Regions from separate parts of the Homo sapiens genome. Here region 1 is linked to region 2. Evidence: promoter capture Hi-C in 16 types of primary human blood cells and fetal thymus (Javierre and others, 2016). All regions are on one chromosome and are shown on one strand. Each heading gives the region's core, a stretch centred on a gene start or on the middle of the fragment in contact. The rest is flanking DNA. Distances are from core to core; before and after follow the strand shown.

Evidence for each region. Contacts are between HindIII fragments. The CHiCAGO score rates a contact against its expected background, and 5 or more counts as called.
Region 1: a fragment that was not itself captured here is called in contact with the fragment with the promoter of DPH5 in region 2 in 2 of 17 cell types (total B cells and naive B cells); the score reaches 10.1 in total B cells.

What each region holds. Positions count from the first base shown.
Region 1 is chr1:101,438,536-101,441,235 of GRCh38, reverse strand. No RefSeq gene overlaps it. Among named protein-coding and RNA genes, the nearest start is that of LINC01307, 120 kb to the right of the region's middle. The HindIII fragment of the contact is 935 bases long and covers 793-1,727 here.
Region 2 is chr1:101,024,357-101,027,056 of GRCh38, reverse strand. It overlaps DPH5 (diphthamide biosynthesis 5), which reads left to right and starts at 1,273. Exons shown (of 8, transcript NM_015958.3): 1 at 1,273-1,374; 2 at 1,591-1,748. The coding sequence starts at 1,614. DPH5-DT (DPH5 divergent transcript) reads right to left here and starts at 1,211. Exons shown (of 5, transcript NR_109849.1): 1 at 996-1,211. RefSeq lists enhancers at 1,342-1,451, 544-1,743. The HindIII fragment of the contact is 3,765 bases long and covers 1-2,139 here.

The DNA.
Region 1 (2,700 bases), core at 11-2,510, 410 kb before region 2:
AATGTGCAGTAGAACACAGCAAAGCACTGGACCAGAGTGAATAATAAATAATAAATAGAGTTGTCTGTCCTTGCCTTTCTTTTAACCAGCCTTCCAACCTCACAGATATGACTATACCAGCTCATATTGGATCACATGCTCCACATAAAATACTCTGTGTCTGTATATGCAGGACTATGAAAAAGGTATGCTTTGTGCATATGTTTGATGCCCTTAATTGCAGCTTCTTCCAGACTGCTTCTTATTTTCTCCCACCTTCTAATCTGGCAGTACTTTAGAGGGTTCAAATTGGCTCTGACCCTAAAATAACTTACTTTTGCTTCTGATAGTCCATAACAAGAAACATTTTTATGGAATATAATGGAGAGCTGGCAGCAGGCTGAGAATCTAACACAAGACTTTAAATGCTGCAGTTATCCATCAGTCACACTATAGAGCAGGTCACGCATAATAAACAGCTGCTTTATTAGGTTGATGGAGTATGCAGCAAATACAAAATGACGGAAAGCAGCTACAGACCAGAAGCTGAGAAGTCGCAGGAAAATGTGCTGGTGTGGGCCAATTCATGGATGCCATTGACAATCATGCCAGAGATCAGTTCTGACCAGCACACATTTCTATACTGGGAAGCCCCGGGACATTCCAAGCGCAAGAGCCAACCATCCCTGCAGGGAGGACAACCAGTATCCAGACCAAACTCTTCTGTCAGTTGGCTGCAAAATCTACTTTTCTCAATACTGAGATGCTACTAAATAAACATGTAACATGAATAAAGATAAACTATTAAAAGCTTATTTTCATGTTAAATTAGCAAGGATATTTGGGGATTTGTTTCATGGCTTTAATCCAGGCATATTCCTCCCTCATCTTTTTTTGAAATAGACTCAAGTTCTGTTTCTGACTTTATCCTGGGAGCATTTGTTTGTGACATGCAGAAAATGGGAACTGAATAGCCAGCAAGCCAAAAAGGGCAGACGATGCAAAGTCTATAAGGCAAAATGGAATGTGGGGAACAATTAGACGGCTCAAACTCTTCTCCTTCTGAGCACCACTGCATTTCCTTTTATTCATATTGTTTTACTAACCATCCCCCACCCCATAGGAGGAAAGGGATCAAAAGCTCATCAGCTATGCTAGCTTGAGAGTTGTAATCCCGACAAGCCAGCTAAAAAGTACACAAGTTTTTAAGTATATGCAAATGTGCACTGGTTCCTCTACTAATCTTATTTTGCCTTCTTTTTTAAGAATACTTTTTGGTTTTTTTTCAGACAGGGTCTTGCTCTGTCACCCAGGCTGGAATGCAGCAGTGGGATCTCTGCTCACTGCAACCTCCACCTCTAGGGTTCAAGCAATTCTCCTGCCTCAGCCTCCTGAGTAGCCGAGATTACAGGCGGATGCCACCACACCCAGCTAATGTTTTTGTATTTTTAGTAGAGATGGGGTTTCACTATGTTGGCCAGACTGGTCTTAAACTCCTGACCTCAAGTGATCCACCCACCTCGACCTCCCAAATTGCTGGGATTACAGGTGTGAGCCACCACGTCCAGCCTAGAATATAATTTTTTAATGTGATTCCATTTTATACTATGCCATTGTGACTTTGTGATCCATAAGGATGTCACAGAAAAACATACTATTGAAATCATGAGATTATAAGAGTATATGCTTAAGACTACGTCCAGCCAAATTACAGTTGATCATTTCATGGGGGAAAAAAAAAGAAAGCTTTTGCTCGTTGATCTATGCTTTTTCCATCTTAAAATTCCTTATGTTAGTATTTCAAGTCAATTTTTGTTTCCCTGCATAATCCAAGCAATTGCCACAATTTTCCATTTTACTTTGCAAATATTCATACATCAGGCATAACATTTTGCAATGATCTATCACAACCAGTTAAGTCTGTCTCTATAAACAGTAACTTTATTTTCTGAACCAAAAACAGGCCACCTGGGCTGCTGGGAGGGCAGAGTGCTTTACACCCAGCCTGTATCCCTGATTCACTCCCTTCTCCATCAAATAAGTATTCAAAACTGCCACTAGTGTTATCTTTCTAAACTGGAAATCAAATCAAGTCACTCCCATGCTTCAAACCTCTTGATGTCTTCTCTTTTTCTGTAAGATAAAATCTAAACTTCTTGGTTGAACAAGCAAACCCCCAAATAGCCAGGCTCAAGCCATCTCTTTCTGAAAAGAGAATCCACTTCATAAGCCCTTCCATCCAGCCATTCTCAACTTCTTGCCCTGGCTTAACGCAGCCTTTTCCAGATTTCATATCTTTGTACCGGCTATTCTTTCTGTGGAAATATTCTTACTCACTCCCAGTCCCCCTCACCCCCACCCATACACACACTCACTTCTACTTATTCTTCAAGACAGATTCCAATGTCTCCTCAGGGTATCTTTCCAAGACTTTCCCAGGCAGTTAGTTGTTTCTTAACAAGTTATTTGTGCCTATATCAAAGCACTCACAACATTTTATATCAATTTATCTATTTATACATTTATGTCTCCTTCTAAGCTATAGCTCTCTACAGTTTTAAGTAGACTATTTTGATGGATAACTCCAAATTGTAACTGTCTGCTGGAAGCTGGAGACTATTTTTGCCTCAGGCTCATGAGGTGAGTTCTATCAGGATCAAGGCTACCACGTGGGGGAGATGTTGTAAAGAGAGTACCAGCACTGGGGCAGGGAAGGGACGA
Region 2 (2,700 bases), core at 24-2,523:
TTATTGCTTTCTGAGTGCTCCTTATATATTCTCCATACAAGTCCTTCATCAGATACATGCTTTGTAAATATTTTCAGTATGTGGCTTCAAGTCTTTTGAAGAGCATAAATTTTTACTTTGTTGAAGTCCAATTTATCAATTTTTTTCATCACGCTTTTGGTTTAAGAAATATTTGCCTAAATAAGGTCACGAATATTTCCTCCTATGTTTTCTTCTGGTATAGGTTTAGGTTTTCCATTTACATCTACGATCCATTTTGAGTTTTTTGGGGTGTGTATGTGGTGTGAGGAATAGATCAACGTAATGAGAGGGGATAAAACACAGCCACGAAGAGTTTATAGATAGGAAGTGCAAAAAGGTGGATGGAACCTGGGAATGAAAAAAAGCCAAGGTTCAAGGAAGCGGAGTTGGGCATTGTCGGGGAGGCAACAGGAAAATTCTGAGTAACCAACACTGCCTGCTAAGAAAAGCAATGACAGCTGTCTTTTTTAACTTGGATGAGGTCACCTTGGGAAGAGCATTTTCAGTCAAAACAAATCTTCCCTATTTCTAATTACATGTAACCAACAGCTTTATAAGAATTCCCCCGGCAGAAACACTTGAGAGGTCTGAAATCCCTGAGCACTATTAAAGGTCACTTCTTTAGGTACAGGAAGGTCTGGGATTCCTGACACTGAGGGTGACTGAAACATCCTTGGGGCACTCCAGGCATAAGGTCTTGGGGACAAACCCAAGGAGTCATTGCCTTGTTGGGAAATCAGAAGCACACTCACTGCTGGGTTTGCCAATCTCACGCTTCACCAGGAAGACACCTAGTTGAACTACAGGAGGATGAGAAGACTGGAATTAAAATCTGTGCACTCGGCCAAATCCGGGGACAAATCAGGAAAATCCTTCCCAGCCCTCCCTGTTTCTGGAGAGGAGGAGTAGGGCGCAGGGCCCCTCCCGACTCTCTTCCACGTGGCTCCTCTCGAGCGAAGAGCTACTGCACTTACCCAGGCTTAGGAAGCGGGTGTTTAAGCCATGGGTTAGAGGGCTCGTGAGCACGCCCGATCCTTTCCCTGAGGCTATGAAACGGTGGCTCCACGGACTCCTCTCGGCCGACTGACCTTTCGCCGCCCTGCCCCAGCAGCCGGCGGGTTTCTTCAGTGGAGCCGGGCTCTGGTCTCCGCAGCCCAGTAGCCCGCTAGCCCGGCCCCCTCCCGCTAGTCGTAAAGTGCAGTAAAGGCACCAGCATTTTGCGGCACCGTAGGTGAGGCCGGCGGCGTGGGCCTTTTCTCTGCACGGAGCCGGCGCTTTTGCAGTTGCTTCTGCGGAAAGGTGGTAGTTAAGAATTTGTAAAGGCCAGAGAACTACCTACGATTCTCTCAGCGGGTAATTGGCTGCTCCTAGGTTTGTGTAACAAGAGGCAAAACTGGTAGGGTTGTTTAAAACCTCTTATCCCAGTTCTTAAGCGTGACATAAGGTTCCCAAACCCCTCCTTGTGACTTGCCTCTTCTCTTGTGCTACTTTGGTTGTCATCGTGTTCATCACTAGATTTTAGATGTCCTCGGTGTTACTGACGGTTTTTCTGTCCACTTCGTCTTGCAGTCTCTCTTCTCCTCAAGTTTGAAATGCTTTATCTCATCGGGTTGGGCCTGGGAGATGCCAAGGACATCACAGTCAAGGGCCTGGAAGTTGTTAGACGCTGCAGTCGAGTGTATCTGGAAGCCTACACCTCAGTCCTAACTGTAGGGAAGGAAGCCTTGGTAGGTGCTGAGCGTTCCCCAGCCTCCTGGGAAGAAAGCTATCTAACATCTGATTTTCATACACTAAGCTGAACAGAATTTTCAGGTCTGCTTGTTTAAACCCTTTGAAACGCATCCCTTGTTCATTAATGATCTGAGGAGCAGAAGAATGGAAATTTTACACCAACCAAGTGACTTGGAAAATGAAAGGGTGCTTTGTCCTATTTTACAAGTCTAATTTTGTGGCTTTCTCCAGTAAATAGGAAAGCTATTTTATACTCCTGGGGGATAGTTATCAAAACCCCTTATTTCATGAGGTAGTCAAGAAACCCTTTCTGAGTTGAGTGCTAATGAGGAGCTGACACAGCCTTAATGAGTTGGTTATATATATTCAAAAACCAAGCTGAAAGCTTCCCCCTTTGAAGTGTGTCCATAGGGAATGGCGATTGCCTTTTTGTATCCTATCCAGAGAGATCTTATCTTAAATAGACTATCTCCCAATAAGGCTTATACTGATACACTTGTATATATTGAGTGAGCCTGGACTTAATATATAAAAATGTATGAGTATACACTTACATGAGTATACACTAAGTAACCAAAGTATTTGTTAGTATATTATACATTTATAGTTGGCCCTCATAAGGGCCCAGTAAATTTGGGGGAAGGGTCAACTTCAGGTTCATTGTCAAACTCTAAGTAGAATGTAAATCAAAGGATTAATACATATGTTATGGGAGGAGGGAGCAGATTTATTGTCATGTCTTCCAAACAAAAAATAGACTTAAAATTTTTAGGCCTCAGATTACTTTAAAATCTTATAGAAGGAATTAAGAACTGCTACTTGAATTGGCCATGCATTTAAATAAAAGTTGTGTGTAAAGACCAACTTTGATATATACATATATGTGGAGAGAGAGAGAAAATAAGTCTTGCTCTGTTGCCCAGGCTGGGGTGCAATGGTATGATCATG